Linked DNA regions of Homo sapiens: regions 2, 3, 4, 5 and 6 are each linked to region 1. Evidence: promoter capture Hi-C in 16 types of primary human blood cells and fetal thymus (Javierre and others, 2016). All regions are on one chromosome and are shown on one strand. The core of a region is centred on a gene start or on the middle of the fragment in contact, and the rest is flanking DNA. Distances in the headings are between cores, read along the strand shown.

The links. Contacts are between HindIII fragments. The CHiCAGO score rates a contact against its expected background, and 5 or more counts as called.
Region 2: a contact is called between a fragment that was not itself captured here and the fragment with the promoter of CYREN in region 1, in 2 of 17 cell types (naive CD4 T cells and endothelial precursors). The highest score is 6.1, in naive CD4 T cells.
Region 3: a contact is called between a fragment that was not itself captured here and the fragment with the promoter of CYREN in region 1, in 4 of 17 cell types (non-activated CD4 T cells, naive CD8 T cells, endothelial precursors and 1 more). The highest score is 6.0, in non-activated CD4 T cells.
Region 4: a contact is called between a fragment that was not itself captured here and the fragment with the promoter of CYREN in region 1, in 1 of 17 cell types (M1 macrophages). The highest score is 6.3, in M1 macrophages.
Region 5: a fragment that was not itself captured here is called in contact with the fragment with the promoter of CYREN in region 1 in 1 of 17 cell types (naive CD8 T cells); the score reaches 6.0 in naive CD8 T cells.
Region 6: a fragment that was not itself captured here is called in contact with the fragment with the promoter of CYREN in region 1 in 1 of 17 cell types (non-activated CD4 T cells); the score reaches 5.3 in non-activated CD4 T cells.

Annotation. Positions count from the first base shown.
Region 1 is chr7:135,169,259-135,172,441 of GRCh38, forward strand. It overlaps CYREN (cell cycle regulator of NHEJ), which reads right to left and starts at 1,449. Exons shown (of 4, transcript NM_024033.4): 1 at 1,394-1,449. RefSeq lists a silencer at 980-1,589 and an enhancer at 1,970-2,189. The HindIII fragment of the contact is 3,007 bases long and covers 1-2,706 here.
Region 2 is chr7:134,696,307-134,699,489 of GRCh38, forward strand. All of the region lies in intron 1 of LOC124901750 (a long non-coding RNA gene), which reads right to left. Among named protein-coding and RNA genes, the nearest start is that of BPGM, 51 kb to the left of the region's middle. The HindIII fragment of the contact is 3,866 bases long and covers 1-3,183 here.
Region 3 is chr7:134,716,004-134,719,186 of GRCh38, forward strand. The region is part of intron 1 of LOC124901750 (a long non-coding RNA gene); the gene reads right to left. It also overlaps a transcript of CALD1 not described here. Among named protein-coding and RNA genes, the nearest start is that of CALD1, 62 kb to the right of the region's middle. The HindIII fragment of the contact is 1,292 bases long and covers 973-2,264 here.
Region 4 is chr7:134,738,185-134,741,367 of GRCh38, forward strand. All of the region lies in intron 1 of LOC124901750 (a long non-coding RNA gene), which reads right to left. It also overlaps a transcript of CALD1 not described here. Among named protein-coding and RNA genes, the nearest start is that of CALD1, 40 kb to the right of the region's middle. The HindIII fragment of the contact is 297 bases long and covers 1,288-1,584 here.
Region 5 is chr7:134,817,011-134,820,193 of GRCh38, forward strand. All of the region lies in intron 1 of CALD1 (caldesmon 1), which reads left to right. LOC124901750 (a long non-coding RNA gene) reads right to left here. Exons shown (of 2, transcript XR_007060537.1): 1 at 1-3,183. Among named protein-coding and RNA genes, the nearest start is that of CALD1, 39 kb to the left of the region's middle. The HindIII fragment of the contact is 1,111 bases long and covers 1,181-2,291 here.
Region 6 is chr7:134,879,659-134,882,841 of GRCh38, forward strand. The region is part of intron 3 of CALD1 (caldesmon 1); the gene reads left to right. Among named protein-coding and RNA genes, the nearest start is that of CALD1, 100 kb to the left of the region's middle. The HindIII fragment of the contact is 2,955 bases long and covers 10-2,964 here.

The sequences.
Region 1 (3,183 bases), core at 199-2,698:
TACAGGCAGCCAAAGCCAACCAGAGATACCTCCTGCAGCCTCTGTGCTGACTGACTCAGCACAGGAGGAACGGAAGGAGGCGGAGGCCCCTAATGTTCCTTCTCATTACCACCCCAAATGCCACTGTCCTCTGGGTGCCCAGCCCATTCAATCCCTAAAATACCTCTTAATGGCCTCTCCCTCATCTGGCCAACTCGATTTCTCTACTCTTCTATGGTGGCTCAGTTAAATGAAACTGAGGGCATTTTATTTCACAATAAAGTCTCATTGGCCAACACGCCGCCCTTAAGCTAAAGATACTTCTGATTGGTCAAACTTGAAGCAGCAATAGGGGCCCGGAGGCATTAACTGTGCCAGTCTGTAGATTCTGAAGCCCACGCCAGCCTCTGATCTAGTTTGGCCTCTCTTTTCCCTATCCCAATTGTTCTGCCTCCACTCAGCAGTCCTGGAGCTCAGTCCTCACCCAGAGAGATGGAGTTGTGACTCAGAGGGCCTAGGTCTCTACCTTCCACTTAGGAATCAAGCCAGAAGCTCCTGAAGCGGAGGTTTGCCCAAAAAAAAGAGTAGTCAGCGATAGTCCTCTCTGAATCATAATTTGATAATGCATTGCTCATCCAGATGGCTGTTTACAATTTAAGAAAAAATATTACCAGGCCCTCCTCCTAACCTGCCCGGCCATGGGGCACACCTTTGCCAATGCACCTTCATTTCTGTCAAAACTCAGTGATATTAGTGACTCCTACCCCCTAAGGCGCCTCCCAAGCGCAATGCTGCAGTCTGTGCGGACAAATTTAGTTCACCCTGGGGTGCCTATTAAGTACATTTCGCAAACGAGGAACTGAGACTTAGTTAACTTGCAGAAGATCACAGAAAAGTTTGAAATCAGCTGGTTGGATTCGCAGCCAGGTCCTGCAGACTCCAGACCCCGCGCCTCCCCGCCCTACTTCTGGGCCCCAAGAGCAGGCCGCGGCAACTTCCAGAAGCCGGGTCTCTGGGGCACCGCGCTCGCGGACCGACCTCAGTCCCATCCCAGCCGCTCCCTGCCTGGGCAGAATGGGGGCCCCGCGGGAACGCGATGTGCTGCCAGTTCACAGCCCGCCCTCCCTCTGCGGGCCGGTACCCGCCGCTGGCGGCGCCGACCTGTGGGAGGCCCAGAGGGCGGGTGAGTGCGGAGCGGAAGGCGCGGGCGAAGCACCGCAGGGGCCTCGCTGACCCCGCCACACGCCGGGCAGGGCTGCAACGGCTCCTTCCGACTGGAGCGGCCGCGCGCTCCTCCGGCCGGCTACTGGCTTCCCTGCTCTCAGGTTCCCGTCTCCGGCTCTCGTGCCCCTTCTTAGCTTCCAGAGCGGAGCCGGGAGGCAAATTCCAAGCGGTTGTGGGACCCACGCCTCACCCGGAACTTTAAGCCCTGCCGTCTCGCCTGGCGCCCAAACTCTGCGGACCTCCACTGGCCGCCCGCCTCTTCCGGCCCCGCGCGCTCCGGGGTCCCGCGGGCTCCCGGCCTCGGGACACTTCCGGTCTTGGGGAACTCCCGGCCCCCTCGCAGTCCCGGCGCCCGGGACACTTCCGGCTCCCGGCAGCTGCCTCAGTCGGAGGTCCGCGGGCGCCCCATGCTGGCAGTGGTAATGCCGCCGGCTGGCATCCGGTTGGCTGCGCGCTGGGAACGCCAGCGAGGCAGCGCCACCGGCTTGAGGAGGGTGAAAGTTCAATTCTTGGCCCCTGAAGTTAGCGGAAGGGAACGGGCATGTTTTGGAAAGGCCCGCCGGGAATTCCCTCAGAAACCAGGCGAAGCTCCCTGCTGGGCCAGGCCCCCCTCGTGTGCTTGAGGAGGATGGGAGCCCGGCCTCGGTTTGTTATCCTAATTAAGTGGAAAATTAAGAAAATAATAGAATAGCGTAAGTACTAATAGTAAAATTATAGTAAGAGAAATAACAATAGCTAGAATGGAATGAATTGCTGTATTAACCAAGGCTAGAAAGAATTTCAGCCCTCCGAAAGTTAAAGCGAGGGAAGAGAGAGACCCTCTCATATTGTTTTATACTCAGTACCTGTTTTTTTTTTTTTTTTTAAAAAAAAAAGGAAGTGAAATCAAAGACAGGCAGCCCAGCGCCAGGCCCAAAACTGGACCTGGGCCTGCCTGGCCTAAACCTAGTAGTTAAAAATCAACTCATGACTTAGAAACCGATGTTATTCATAGATTCCAGACATTCTATAGAAGAACATTGTGAAACTCCCTGCCCTGTTCTGTTTCTCCCTGACCATCGGTGCATGCAGCCCCTGTCACGTACCCCTTGCTTGCTCAAATCAATCACGACCCTTTCATGTGAAATTTTAGTGTTGTGAGCTCTTAAAAGCGACAGAAATTGTGCACTCGGGGAGCTCGGATTTTAAGGCAGTAGCTTGCCAATGCTCCCAGCTGAATAAAGCCCTTTCTTCTACAGCTCCGTGTCTGAGAGGTTTTGTCTGTGGCTTGTCCTGCTACAGTCCTTGGTTCCCTGACCAGGAAGCGAGGTGACTGACAAGCCCTGTGGAGCGTCCCTGCAGAGGACTCCGGCCAGCCTGACTGACGCAATCCAAAGAGCGCTCCCGGGTAGGAAATGGCCCCGGTGGAATGCCTTGCCAGAGCAGCGCATAGCAGGCTCCCGAGAAGGATTAACACTGGCTGAACACCGGGAAGGAACTGGCACTTGAAGTCCAGACATCTGAAGCTTGTCAAGACTAGTTTTTGGAACTTGCCCCACTCCATGTGAGTGGAAGCATGGCCTGATCACCCACGGTGTGCCTGTATTGACATCTTTGTTCTGGTTTTGACTTGGCTTGACTTGGTAAGACTAGTCTTTGGAACTTGCCCCACTCCACGTGAGTGGAAGCGTGGCCTGATCACCCACGGTGTGCCTGTATTGGCACTTTTGTTCTGGTTTTGACTTGGCTTGACTTGGTAAGACTAGTCTTTGGAACTTGCCCCACTCCATCTGAGTGGAAACGTGGCCTGATCACCCACAGCATGCCTGCATGGGCACTCTTGTTCTGGTTTTGACTTGACTTGAATTGCTGGATACTTTGGTTTTGGTTTTGACTTGGCTTGAATTTTTTGGTACTCGGATTTTGAATTTCGTGATTTTGGTTTGGTATAAACGGTAAAAGTGTGTGTGCCCTCTTTACCTGTTCTTTGTCTTGTGGTAT
Region 2 (3,183 bases), core at 371-2,870, 470 kb before region 1:
CAGATGTGATCAGACAAAACACACCTAGCAGAAAGGGTTTCCAGCTGCTCCCGAAGGCGGCTACAGTAATTTCAAGGGTAGAAGTTGGACACACTCATGTTTACCAGGGAGGTCAGTGTCTAAACTGAAAGGAGACAGGGAGGTGTGACTGGCAGCCTCAGGCACTGGGCAGGGCATGCACAGAACCCCGCCTCTGTTCGAGGGGGGTTGGGGAGGGGACCTGCAACGAGTGGCTTGTTCTATCCTGAACAAGGGTTTTACCCCAGGAAGGGGCCTTAAAGATCTCTGCCTCCAACCTCCTAGTTTTTTTTCTTTTAATTTTAAATATGTAAAATTTTAATACCATGAGAGATACCTTTTTTTTTTTTTTTTTTTTGAGATGGAGTCTCGCTCTGTCGCCCAGACTGGAGTGCAGTGGCACGATCTTGGCTCACTTCAAGCTCTGTCTCCAGGGTTCACGCCATTCTCCTGCCTCAGCCTCCCGAGTAGCTGGGACTACAGGCGCCTCCCACCACGCCCAGCTAAATTTTTTTTGTATTTTTAGTAGAGACGGAGTTTCACCGTGTTAGCCAGAATGGTCTCGATCTCCTGACCTCGTGATGCACCCGCCTCGGGCTCTCAAAGTGCTGGGATTACAGGCGTGAGCCTCCGCGCCCAGCCGAGAGATACTTTTTTAAAGAATAAAATGCTTCCATCAACTCAGATTCTTTGTTTTTGCTACTTAAATCAAGAGACTTTGTAGAGACCTGTTTTTCATGTCACACCAGCATGGCACATGTATACATATGTAACTAACCTGCACAATGTGCACATGTACCCTAAAACTTAAAGTATAATAAAAAAAAAAAAGAAAAAAAAAACCAATATGGTCAGTACTGGTCACATTCTAGCGTCTAGAAATCAAACAAATCACATCGAGAAGCACTGATTGAGCACCATGTATGTGCCCAACACAAGGAAAATTGCCAAGTAGTGTATCCCTACAGTGGTTTGTAAACTTTCTACTTGGAATCATTTTAGCTTAGGAGGAGTTAAAACATGAGTCTAGAGGGTGGATATGTGCTCTTCACCCTGCTTTCCCCAATGATGACCTCATACATAACCATAATACATATATTATTGAAATTGGAAAATAACCCTCTACTTTTACAGATGAAAGAATGCACACTCAGGGAGGCCAGGTGACTTGCCCCAGGGCACACAGTGAGTGAGGTAAGTTGGTGTCCCCCAGGCAGGCACACCCTGGTTGGTAATATCAAGGCTTTGTTTGAGTCCAGTTTCTGCCACGGATGAGCTGAGTGACATTAGACAATTTCCTTAAACTCATCTGTGAAATGGAGACAATAATAGTGCTTTCCTTGGGGGATTGTTCTGGGGACTAGGAAAAGGTGTGTGCAAGATTCTTGGCACAGTGCCTAAGGTGTAACAAGAATCCACCTGCATTGGAGGCTTGCTTTGTTCCGGTCATTGGTCTGGGTGCTTTATATGTTACACTATTTATTGCAACAACCCTGGAACCCATCATTATCAATTATTTTACCAATGGGAAAACTGAGGCACAAAGAAGTCAAAGGCTTAGTGAGGGGCAGAGATGGGGCCCAAAGTTGGGCTGAGTTGTGGAGCTCCTTGGCCTACCTTGGTCGAGGCTGAATGAACAGTGCTGCTGCAGTTGCCGTAAGCATGTTGCATCTCACCTGGATGCTCTGGCTTGCTGTGGTGGCTTCTCTTGAGCCATCTCTCTAGTGGCATCTGTGCATGAGTTTGGCTGCATGTGCAAACTCAGGACATTTAACTTTGGACCACCGTGAACTTTGTGGCTAACCAGATACTGCACTGACTTTACTCAACTCTTGGGCCTTTCAGGAGCTCAGTAATTATCCATTATGAGGCTCCTCACCTGCCCATCACTAGAAACTCCTTTCATTACCTCTTTTTCTCCACCTTTTGTGCCTCCTTTGTTTTAAAAGACTTTGCTATCGAACAACCTGCATTTTAAAATTAGTTTATCCATGCTTCCATTTTTAAAAAGTTATTCCAAGATATGTGCAATTGCCAATTAGAGATATTGGGCAGCAAAAGATAACCAACCCCATCAAACTTGGTTAACAGAATTCTAGCCCAAAGCAAACAAAATTTGACATTTTAACGAGACTGTGCAGGCTTAGCAGGCAGGGGTAGGACTTCAATGTGACTTTTAAAATACTGAAAATAGTTGGAGGACTCCTAAGGGTTTAGGAATCCCAGGGACTTAATCCAGTCCCCAAAGATTCTAAAGATTCCAGAAAATCCTCCATAAAACATAAATACCCTTTATTATATGTGCTTTATGTTGGCCTAAATCCCTTTTTAAATATCTTAATCTCATTCTACCTTACAGTTTGATATTTACATGAGAGTCTCTAAAATACAAGGAAATCCAATTGCATTAAAATATTTCTATGCACATATGGTACCCAGGTGCATAATAAAGGTAGACATCATTATCTTAAAAAGAGTGGCATGCAGTTTCTTCCCTGGTTATTCAATCTCTATCTACTCATATACTTTCCAGCATTTTCCCTCTCCCGTCCAGCCTTCAGCCCTACTTGCCGTCTTCCTTTTCCTTGCTATTAAGTTGGTGGTTCACTAAACTCTTACTAAACATGTGCTGTATTACTCCATGTTTTCCAGAGAAACAGAATCAACAAGATATTGATTCAATATATACACATATATATTTGGACATATACATATATATGGAGAGAGACAGAAAGATAGAGAGACAGAGATTGATTCATTTTAAAAGAAAGTGTGGGAACTGCAAGTCTGAAATTTGCAGGCCCAGACCAGCAGGCTGGAAGTTCTGGCAAGAGGTGACATTGCAGACTTGAGTCTGGAGGCAGAATTCCTTCCCCTTTGTAGGGCCTCAGTCTTTTCTCTTAAGGCCTCCAGCTGATTGGATGAGCGTCACCCACATGATGTATGGTAATCTACTCAAAGTCAACTCACTTAAATATCAATTATATCTTTTAAAATACCTTCTCTGCAACATCTAGGCTGATGTTTGACCAAACAACAGTGCATGACGTTTGTTGTGCCCCCAAACTGACACATAAAATCAACCATCACATGTACAGGCACTGTATTAAGCACTAGGGTGTAAAGATAAATATGACCCTGTCCTTAATCTTGAGGAGTTGATGA
Region 3 (3,183 bases), core at 369-2,868, 450 kb before region 1:
ATGTGCAGGTTAGTTACATATGTATACATGTGCCATGCTGGTCTGCTGCAGCCATACAATGGTATTTTGAAACAGAATATAGTGAGAATAAAAATAAGGTTATTGGTATCTTACAGTGTGTCTTGAACTTACTGTACCTAGAAAACGGAATATGAACTAAAATTAAATCTTACAATAAAAAGTCACATTCAGCATGACTCTAAGTAGATGTACTCTGAGGGAAAATGGAATGTACCATCAGGGGTAGTTTTGTTAAACCATCTGTTTAAACAATGCAACTGGCTACTATAAAAATTCAACCACTCTCACTGTCTCATAAGATACTAGCTCAGATGCAAGAATTATCACCCAGTGTGTTTAATGAATCAATTAAAAGGCTGAAATTTTGTGAAATTTTGATAGCTCCAGTGGACAAGACTCTGTGTTGCTTGCTTTTGTATTGTAAGTCCATGCAGGCAAATATGAGAAAGATTTATTATTTTCTAAACTCTTGAAATGTACATGACAGAAGAAGAAACTTTTAGATGTTTGAATCAGTTTTTAACACACCATCAAATAAATTGGCAAAAATATAAGCAAAAATATAAATGGACAGAGTGAAAACAATGTCAGGGAAAAAACTCAGCCAGAAGGGTTCATGTCAACACCATGACCAAAGTGAGTTCAAATATTCATGGCAGGTAGAGTGGATGTGAGCTAGTTATTAAAAAGATGACAGCATCTTTCAAAACTACATTGCACCATGCCTTGCAAATTATCAGTTTTATTAAGGAATAGTATTTATACTGTAGACTTTGATGTGTGATATGGATTATGTGAATAGTGAGTTCTAGAATTTACCTTTTTCACACCAAAGACCAATGCCAAATGAGATAAGAAATCACTGGTCTTCGATTTTTTGTGGTTATTGTTGTTGGTAAACAAGCTCCATTACCATACTATCTCTCAAATATAACAAGGTTTGACCACTGAAGCTTTATATATATACTTATCTTAGACTCTGTCTATCTATCTATCATCTATCTATCTGTCTATAATATATTTAATTTTTAGGACGGTATATTTTTACAGAATAATTGAGCAGAAAGTACAGTGAGTTCCGTCTCTTTCCCCCACCTCAACACACACAGTTTCCCCTAGTGTTAACATCTGACATTAGTGTGGTACACTTGTTAAAACTGATTAATCAAAACCAATAATGCTATTATGAACTAAAATCCATGGTTTAGGGTAGGGTTCATTCTGTGTTGCATAGGTCTATGTGTTTTGACAAATGTATAATGTCATGTATCTGCCATAACAGTGCCATACATAATGGTGTCACCACCCAAAGGACCACTGTAGTTTTAATAAGCTGAAAAAGCCCAATTGGAAAAGCAGAGTGACCTTGGTACCTTGCTTACAATGGCCAAGAAAGCACCAGGAATGAAATCGGAACACATTTCAGTTTCATTCAACACATCGCATTTCATGCAATACCAACTAAATGTACCTGCTTTGATCCTGAGAATGAAGGAAAATAAGGGGATAGAAGGTGGCCAGGCAGAAGGAATGGTGTGATGCAGAGAAAGCACTGGAATCCAGCTGCACTTGGCTGCTCAGACTGGAGCATTCGCCCGCCTCCCTGTGCTCAGGCTCCGGGTCCATAAAGTCAAAGTGAGGAGTTTGACTCCATGATAGGGAAGGCCCTGCCAGCTCCACTTGAAAGAAGGCACAATTATTATAACCAGGGCTTGTATATGTTTAATGGATTGGTAAACATTTTCCTTAAGCCCCAGGATTTTTTTGTGTGTGCCAATTGCCTTTGGAGATTTCAAGAATTAAAAAACAAATGACTAAGAAAACATAAATATGGAGACATATATTTCCGATTTTTAGCTTCTTAGTAAATAACTTGCTTGGACTACAGCTAAAACAAAGAGAAAATGCTAGCAATATAGATGGTTTCTAGATAAAAGAACATTCTTCTTGTCATGGAAAAAAAACAATACTAACTATGTGAATGCTTCCAGAAGGTAGAATTTTCATTTGGTACCTATTTTTCTTTTTCCCTTTTGTTTTTAAACACAGAATCAATCTAAAGTTGGTTCATGGTAAGAGAAGAAAAATGGGAGAGCAGTTTTTTTATAAGTGCCTGTGGATTTATTCTGAAACCCTAAGTTCTAGATTGAAAACATTTTTTTAAATCCTCCTCTTGGGAAAGAAGATGAAATCCAAAGGATTGTGTGAATTTACACTATTAATAATAGCTACCATTTATTGTAAGCTTGATGTCATAAGCACTTTACATGGATTATAACATTCTATCCACTCATCAATCTTATGAAGTAGACACTGTTATTATCTCCATTTTACAGACATGACAAAAAGGCACAGAGAAGTTAAATAGCTTGCCCAAGGTCACTCTGTGGTGGTTAAGCTGGGATTTGAGCCGAGGCAGGTTGACTTCTGAACCTGAGTTTTTAATCACTAAACTCAACTGCTATAAATTACATACTTATATTTATTTGTATACATGTGTTTATTTAATGGGAAAAAAATGTTTCATATAATGATGTATCTGAGATGGGAGCAGAGACAAGTAGTAAAATACAGATGATTTATAAAAGGCTTGTTATGCATTAAAAATGCATAAAACCTGGCCTCAGCTGTTTTAAAATTAGAGTAAATTACTGTACAAATTTCTGTTGCAATCAGAAGACGTTGGCTACTGCTGTTGTTGTGAATAATAAAATTCTTTGTCTCTGACCCAGAAGTCTCATGTCTTATACTGGTTGCTAGTTTTCAAGAAGGGTAAAATCTAAGACCCTTAGCAGTTCTTGACAACTGTTTCTGGAGTTTTTATTTCCCCAAAATATTGTCACTATTGCTTAGATGTCATACCTAGATGAATAACACTTGCCAAATAAATTTTTGAGTCAAGTTGAATGAAATAATTACCTTTTACTGGGAACCTATCAGTGGTTCTCACCCATGCTAGCCTCATGACTACTGTGTACACTATAGAGTATTATCTCCATTTTGCAAATGAAGAAACTGAGGTATAAGGACATTATTTTCCCCAATATCCTACAGCTCACAAATGTTAGAACTAAGGTCTGAAGCTAGTCCAATGTTCTTTCTGCCACTATTGCCTCTTAAAACATTTTAGCTACAGAAATATTAACTTTCAGACCAAATTAT
Region 4 (3,183 bases), core at 186-2,685, 430 kb before region 1:
GAATCTGAAGCTCTGTGACTCACTCCAATTCTGCGGGAAATGGAGAATCAGTTCACACGCTAACTTGCTTGGTTTCATTCTTTCTCTTTCTGTGATTTCCCCTTCTTTCTGTGATCTTAGTTTTGCATAAAAAATTGTTTTGTTATATTTGATCCTCAAATCCTAGGCATACACAAAAGGCAGAGTTTCCCAGTGATTTCAGCCTGCCATCTCATCAGAATTAGAGGTTCTTTCATCTACGCTTTATGTTTTCTTCAGTTTGACTGTGAGATTTTCTGGCTTAACAATTGTTGACAGCCCACGTGTTGCGTGTGGAATAGTCTAAATTCCCTGTCCTTGCATTTAAGGTCATCTATTATCTGGCCTCCAATTAAATATATTTTCTAGTAGTTTTAGTGAAGATTTTGATTGTTCGCTGTTGAAAATTCTTATTAACAAATTAGATGAGAGCTGTCTGGTATATAAAACTGTCAGATGGATCCTCAACTATAGGACCAGCATCGCGGCATGTCAAGATAATTTTAATCTTGATTCTGTCAACTCTGTTATGTCTCTTTTAAAGTCCCCTCTAGACTTGTGTCATTGCACATTTGATCAGCATACCTACTGCTTCCTCATTCAAGGTACTGATACAAATGTTGGCCAAAAGGAGTCTAAGAGAATAGCGCAACAGTTCAATTGCAGAGCCCTGGGCAGACTTAATTGTGTCCACTAATCATTTTGGGTATGATTGTTCAAGTAGTTTTGAATTCATTCTGAAGTTTTGAATTCTTACCATGTGCAAGTGTTTTTATTTATTTTAGGATTCGTTGTATCAATCCACAACTTAGCACATGTCCTGGTCTCGACAGGCACTCAATGCCTGCTGCTTAAGTTTAATTATGGAGGGAACATTGGTGACTGGACTTCAAGTCATAGAAGCAACGTAAGTGGGGCAGAGCTTTACTTTGAATGGTTTTTGGAGCTTGTCTGTTTTCTATAGTGGGAAACAAGCAAAAACTATATGGAAGAGATCAGCCCACACAATGTGACACAAATGGGCACAAACAAAAGGGATTTAGCAACGGACAAAATGGACCAAGATAGTCTCTTAAGCCTAGCAATTGTACAGTTCTGTGACTTATCCAAGGTTACATTTACCCAATAAATGATGGACCTGGAATTAGAACCTAGGTCTTATCACTTCTGATCCATCAACCCCCTATACTGTCAGGTTTAATACCATACTTAACATGAAATAGCATGTGAGTCCCACCTAAACTATGTTTTCTATCTGTTTTTAAGCCAAGCTTGCTGTTCACTTTCTGGTTTTGCTGGGCATATACATGAAATGCACTTCCCAGCCTCCCGTGCAGGTAGGGTGGTCACGTGACTGATGTGCACTACTCCCAGGCCTGGACCATAAAAACATTCCACATGCCATCATCTGTCTCCTTTCCCCATTAACTGCTGACTTCCTAGAACTGCAAAGAACAAGAGGAGAAGGAAGCCACTAAATAGAAGAAATTAGATTTCCTTAATGACACATGGAAGGCAGCCTGTCAATCAGGATCACTTCATGTGACTTCACGTGAGTGAGAAATAAGCTTCCGTTGTCTTAAGCCACTGAGATTTTGGAGGCTCTTTGTTGAGGCAGGCAAATATTCTAGCAAATGCACCTTCAAACTAAAGCCTCAAATTGGAGTCCAAGAGTAACAATCAAATGGCATAATTTTATTCTTAAGTCACCTATTAAATGATGTCCACTACATTCTTCACTGATAATCTAGATGTAGAAATTGATATTCTTATAAAATTTAAGGGAGATACAAGCATTTCAGGAACATTTCAGATAAAATAATCTTCAAGAATGTCATAGACCCAGTGTAACTTCATATCAGCAAGGTATTTTGAATAAAATGATGAAATAGGGATACCTCTCAATGAATTTAAAACTACTTGAACAATCATACCCAAAATGATTAGTGGACACAATTAAGTATGCTGAGGGCTCTGCAATTGAACTGTTGGACTATTCTCTTAGCCTCATTTTGGTCAACATTTGAATCAGTGCCTTGAATGAGGAAGTAGTAGGTATGCTGATCAAATATGCAATGACACAAGTCTGGAGGGGATTAAAAAAAAAGACATAAGAGAGTTGACAGAATCAAGATTTAGAATTATCTTGACATGCTGCAATGCTGGGCCAAGACTAAAAACACAAAATGTAATAAGGATAAATGCAAAGTCTTATTTTTAGGTCCAAAAAAGAATTATAGGGATACAGGATGGAGAACATGCAACTTGGCAGCAGTTGATGTGAAAAGGCCCTGGGGGTCTTGTTTGACCAAAAGCTTCATGTGAGCCAACAGTGTGATATGGCTCCACAAACTTACTGCATTAATGGAAGCATTGTGTGATGATCGTGAGAAGCGTTAGGCTCTGTGCTCCTCACATGGAATCTGGGACATTATTTTTAAATTCTGTGTACATTGGAACAGTGACAAACTAGAGACTACGCAGAGGAGGTGATGAGGATTGTGAATAAAGATGTCTCCTGGTTCTGCACCCAAGGCATACTGCTGGTAACCTTTTTCGTGCTGCACTACTCCTCCAGCTTTGTTCTATGGTCTGTCTTCTCCACTAGACTGCAAGCTCATTAGCAAAGGGATAATAATAGCAATACCACCAACAATGGTTGGAGTTAGCATTTATTGGATTCTTACCATGTGCAAGGCACTTCTCTAAATGCTTTACACATGGATCTTATTCAATCTTCACAGCAATTCTATGAAATTATTCTACTAGTGTCCCCATTTTATGGATGAATTGAGGCATAGCGAGGTTAGGTACCTTAGTAAATCTGGGGGTCAGGGCACAAAAATCAGTCATTTGGACTCTAGGACTGATACTCCTATCCCACATGCTATCTGCCCATTTGAGCTTTGTATTATTAGTCCATTCTCACACTGCCATAAGGACACATCTGAGACTGGGTGATTTATAAAGGAAAGAGGTTTAATTGACTCACAGTTCCATAAGGCTGGGGAGGCCTCAGGAAACTTACAGTTATGGTGGAAAGGGAAGCAAATACGTCCTTCTTCACATGGCAGCAGTAAGGAGAAGTGAAGAGGGGGAAAAGCCCCTTATAAAACTATCGGATCTTGTGAGAACTCATTATCACAAGACCAGCATGGAGGTAAC
Region 5 (3,183 bases), core at 486-2,985, 350 kb before region 1:
TTGTAGAGCACAGACCAACGGAGAGCTGTTCCCATTTGCTAGGATGTTGTTACTGCTTCGGTTTTATTTTTATTTAAATTTTTTATCTCTGCTATTCTCCTTTATGGTCAAAATTGTAAAGAGTGCATCTTTGGAGGAATGCAAGGTAGGCAAGCTTGCTAAGAGCTTCTACAAGACTACCTTAAAAGAAGACTTATATTTAACAAACAGAATCTCAACATATGGACATACACCCTCTTGAGCTGGTTAGAAAGGACTTTTTTCTTTATTTGCTCTTTTTGACCACTGACATTTATTTTAATTTTTTTCATTTTTAAACATTTTTATTTTGAAATAAAGTAAAAGATTAACAGGAAGTTACAAAATAGTATAGAAAGGTCCCAGGTACCCAGTTTTCCCCAGTAGTAACATCTTGCATAACTACAGTGCAATACCAAAACCCAAGAAATTGACATTCGTGTGATTCACAACGTTATTCAGGTAAGAAGGTCTTTTTAAAACAAGAAATAATTCATTACAACCACGGGGTTCCTCTAAAAACTGTCCCTTTAACTGAAGAACACCTGATTGTTTGTTGTTTATTCAGTACTTCTCCACATTTTGCAGAGGCACACAAAATCATTTTTATAAATCCCAACCTATGAAGGACAGAACAAAGTCATTGTTCTATTTTTCAAAGTATACAAAAGCTAAACGAGAAAAAAATCATCTGGGAAGGCAGAAATCCATTGGTGCAAAGTTTTTAGAAAGCTAAGTGAAGTAGTAATTATCTTACTCATTCCATTATTGAAGACCTCTTCAAAATTTTATTCATTTACAATAAAATTTCAATAAATTCAATTCCATTCTATTACAATAAAATTTCCCCATATATTTCTAAAAAGTCACAGTTTTGTGGCAACAAGATTTAGAATTTTCAAACAATACTTTTTGTCACACTTGCCGTCAGCCCATTTTGTTATAACCTCATCTGTAATAAACCCAAAAGAGTTTACTCTTTTTCTTTATTTCTTGGTTAACTGTTTTTGAGTTTTATATGCACAGATAGCATTCCTTGAAGAAAGAGGCAAGGTATACATACACACAGTTGGGTTGCTATTTTTTTTCTTACAATGTATTTATACTGTTGTCAATTTAAAGACCAAAATATTCTCAGGAAAATACAATATTTTACTTTTTAAGCTTCATATTCTATGAGTAATAAATTTAGTTTTGAGGGATAAGATAGCAAACCATAAATATGGAAGCACTCTCTTAAGGTCAACATTAAATCTGATAATATGTAGAATAGATTTAAGACTATTTCGAAGTTTCAACTAGAGTTTCACCCAGTGTGCTTTCTTCTTAGGTTTTAATGCTGGTTTACAAAAGGAAAAGTAAATTGCTTTCTGGTAACAAATTATTGCAGAAGATCTTCTACTTAAAGCATAGATGCATTTTTATTTTTCATTTACTTCTCTGTTTTTGAAGGGTTCAGTGTTTATTCGGCGGAGGTTTATGTCAATTATTTAATCAGAAGCAGGCCCCAGAGTTTGCCAGTGATATTTTGGAATGTAGGGTCTACTTCAAAGAAAGGTTCCATGTCTCTTGACCCAGATGAAGCCAATTTTTCATAGTGAAGAGCAAGGTAATTCGATTTTCTTTTTCAGAGCAAAAATTATTTTTAGACTGAATTTGATGGGTCATATTTCTCTGCTCAGTAAATCTTGCAATTATCACTCCACACTGGAAAATGTAACTCAATGACCCACCATTGCGCCAGAGCTTCTGTGGGCAGCCGAGCTCCGAGAGGCAGCTGGACATGATGTGAAGTTGGTGTCTATGACATACTGCAAGATGGAAACCAAGCAGTCAACCAGTGGCAGTAGTTCACATGCCAACATTTTTGTTTATTTGTAATGGAAAACTTTAGGAGGAAAACACAGGAGACTGGGTGCCATGGGTGTGAGGTAGAGATTTCAATCCTGTTCAGTCACAGGAAAATCCAAATTGGCCACGCTAAACCAGATCCAAAATCCCAGACTAATTTCCTCTCCTCTTTCCTCTGCGAGTGTTTCTGATTTCACACAAGGCAAGAGCAACTGAGAACAGGGAGCCTGACTAGATGAAGTAAGAACCGTCGTGAGGCCCAGGAGCAAGAAAAAAAGGCCTGGAGTTGTAGAACATGCTAGAACATGAATGACAGTCTCTGCGGAATTAAGAAGCATTCTCCACTCTATTCCATGGCCTCTTGCTGACCTAACTCCTAGTCTTCCTTCACATCTCACCTTAGGATACCACTTCCTAAGGAAAGCTTAACAGACTCAAGTTTGACTTATTACCTTTCTCTGTGCCCTGACAATTCCTGATACCCTCTCCAGAGCAGGGTTATCACACCACATTGTAATATTTAATATTGACATCCCTACTGGACTGCAAGCCTAATAGAACTTGGGCCATACCGCTCAAGTTTACAATTGCATGCTTTTTGCTTAGCACTGTGTCTAGCACACAGGAAATGCTTAATATGTATGCGTTGTTTATGTTATCCATGCCTTAATGTTTGGGATGCTCCAGATGGCTTAATAAAGTGTTTAACTATCTTTACAACCTCAACCCAGTCCAATGTATTGAAATCATCTCTACCAAGCTTTGGGAAATTCAATCAGCATCTAAGAAGCCCTTGTAAAAAACATTTTAGTACCCAATGATGACTATACGTAAACCCTCTAGCTCCTGACCCAGATGTGATGGCACGTGCCTGTGGTCCCAGCTACTTGGGAGGCTGAGGCAGGAGGAATGCTTGAGCCCAGAAGTTCAAAGCTGTAGTGAGCTATGATTGTGCCACTGCACTCCATCCTAGGCAACATAGTGACAATCCCATCTCAAAAACAAAACAAACAAACAAACAAACAAACAAAACCCTGGTTTTAAGAAAACAATGAAGATAGCCATGAAAATACACACTGGCCTATAAATGTATATGCTAAAAGAGAATGGAAACTGAAATAATGGATCTAATGAAAATCAGGCATGGTTTTGAAATTTTGTTAATGTGCTTCTTTTTTCACCCTTCTATTCACTTTAGTTGGATTTTCATGGAAATTCAGATCTAAGAGAGAATTTTGAGTTCATGTCTACACAGATGGTAACCAGAAACTTCTAAGACATATTCTCAGTGTAATTTTCAGCCCATAATGATGA
Region 6 (3,183 bases), core at 237-2,736, 290 kb before region 1:
ATTTGAATAAGCTTCTAATGTTTTGCCAGCATGATGGAAGTTACCAGGTAGGTAGACTTAAACATTTTTCAAAATTAAATTTCTTTTAAGGTATTTTATAATTTTTACTGGGCTTACTTCTAGTTGATCTATTTTAGTGAGACCTGACATTGCATTTGAGATGTGTACCAATGACTAGGTTAGAATGTGAGGGCTTATTTTCCATTTTAATAACTCCCTACATCACATACAGTTCCTTTGTTGGGATAAAAATCTCAGTAAAGTACACATCGGTCACTATAAATAGCAGCTACAAGCCTGTACATTCAGGAGAGTCTCCAGAGTGTATTTTAAACCCCACATTGTTTAGAATAGGAAATTCTTCCAATGTTCATATTTTCCATTGTGGGTGACATGGACTACTATCCCATGTCACATCTTCACTGGCTTCTGTTTTCCTGTACCATTTAGGAACTCAACTGACGGTTTCCAGCAGATTGTTCAATATGTGCTTTTTATTTTTCTAAGGGTAGCCTGGGTCTTTTTGTCCAGTGGGAATTTTGCATGCTTCATGGGGCTCTCCAAATAAAAGCTAGATAACTCAGAGCCGGCACCAGCACTAGGTAATGAAAGAGTCCTTTATTTCTGGAGCTAGTAGCACTACTGTGCCCGCTTAGAATAACAGCAGTCAACCCATTTTTTATTCCCACAGAAAACTTTACACTGTTGGAAGGTTTTCTGGAGGTGGGGGGAGACTCAAGAGACTAATATGAAAAATAACTGAGCAAGAAGTGAGCAAATAAACAAGCAGGATGAGATGATGGGTTATCAGGCTGATTCAAAGACAAGAAGCATCATCAGGTCTAATCACACTGCATCTTTCCCAAGGCACAATTGGCAGCTACAGTACATGTATATCTCTGCCCACTTCTTCCTTGAACAATTCTTCTGTTTCTCTCATCAAAACTGTTGTGTAGATCTTGATCTTTTTTTAGTGGAGTTTCATTTGGGGGATCTAACATTCCCTCACTATTTGTCCTTTGATGAAGAAGATGAGAAAGGACCTATTATTAAGGGGCCTCGCGCAAAAGTTGTGATGTAGAAAGAACTGATATCTGACACCTGTCTTTCCTGCTACTACCTTTTAAGATCCTTTAACTCTTCCTATCTAAGCAGGAGAGTGTATTTTCCCTGAGCCAGCATCTTCATAGCATATCCTGGCTACCTAGGGATTATCATTGCTACAGATGCTCAGCGGCTTTTGAACTGAACAGAATGAAGTTTTTTTTAAACTCTAGGTTGAGGCTGGAGAGAAATTCCCAAATCCTTTAGTCCCTAAGTGCCTCATGTCATATAAATGATGTCTCATTGTGGCATTGTCAGAGCTATGGTAGAGCTGAAATCAGAGACATATGCGCTTCAGAAAGGTGTCAGTTTTCCATGAGAACTCTGCCTGAAGTGCAGAATTACTTCTAGAAGACAGATTCTGGTGTCCAGTTGGGTTATGTCATCAGAAATTAACATACACTCTCTTTCCTACGTTCTCTGAAAGGGGGTTGGAAGCCCAAATCATTGGACCCAGGCTTGTAGAGCAACATGTCCAAGAGCACACAGTCAGTGGCAGGGTCAAATCTGGAAACCTTGTCATTTTCTCCAACTCTGGCACTTTTTTTCTTTGCATCGTGTGAGGCCCCACTCTCAATTTATTATCACATTAGAGCTAAATGTCCTCTAACTCCTGCTGAAGAGACTGGCTTTTAAATCAAGGATAAAAGAAAAGACACTGGATAAAAGTTCAGCAGATCAGGGCTTCCTTATCTATAAGAGAGAACTAACACTTCTCAGGGTGGCTGAGAAAATTAAGCAAGATACAGAAAAAATGTCATCGAAAGTATAAAGGGTAATGCGCATGACGTACGTTTATCATGTTGAAGTGCCTGGGTGATTACACTGGATTCACTTCTATATTAACTATATGTAGAGTTGCAGGTTTCATGCTGGTCATGTGCTGTGTTTCAAAGGAATTTTCACACTTCTAACCCTGCTGCCTTATGCTAGCTGACTGGCTGTCAGGTATTCTAGTCTTTCAGAAATCAGATGCTGAGAAAACACAATGAAATAAAATGTCACCTGTCACCCTCCCTAGAGCCCGTCACCTCTGGAGAGGGCTTAGGACCTCAATTGCAGATTAGAAGAACCAAAGCCATTTTATTTTCCCTTTTCCTCTAGTTGTGAATTGAGGAGAAAATGCAGACGATTTAAAATCCTGGCTTTATCCCAATCAGAAGGAAACTGTGCTGTGCTTACGAGGAGAACCCTACTCCCACCTTGGGTCTTACGTCGCACTTTTTACATATGTTAATTATTATCCTCTATTTTATGTTTATTTGTTCTCGTATCTGTTTTCTCCACCAAATTGAAAGCAACCGTAGATCAGAAACTACATCTTACTCACTTTTATTTCCCCAAGACCAGCATACAATGTTGAATGAACACTAACACTTGTGTATCAAGGCACAACTGTGACAAATGTGCTAAGCTACTTGTGAGGGAGGCAGAAATGTTAGTGACACTCGTTGTGTCTTCTAAACACTGACACCATCAATGCCTCTCCTGGGGTTTCATCACTTCTCTGCTGAGCCTTCAAGCCATTGCAATTTCAACTCCATATCTTTTCTCCAGAGAAATGAAGAGATTTATCTCATGTATTTTTTTGATTATTAAGGATAATTGGACCTTTACAACATAGAATTTTGACCACTTATGCTTATTTAGTTGCATTGTGGAGGCAAATGATATTAATATGGTAAGAGTCCATTTCCTTTTGTTGGCCTATTTACTCCGGTACTCAAGCCCTTGGTATATTTGCAATTAGTATCTGCATTATAAATCAGATAATCATCAAATTACAGGGTTTATGCCAAACGTACAGGAGTCCAACAGTGAACAAACTGTATAATCAAAAATTTCTCTAATGAAGGATCAAGCTTGTGGTCAGGAGGAGTAAAGTATCCAGTTAATCCCAGAAGAATGGGCAGAAGTAGGATAAGGGTAGGGCCAATCTCTGGCATGTATTTATCAACATTCTTTCTGATAATAGAATGTTTAGCATACAATAGAATGGAGTGTTTAACATACAAGTTGAGTTCAAAGTTTAGATTTCAAATGGTAAATGGTTTTCCAATATTGGGATGTAATGATGGA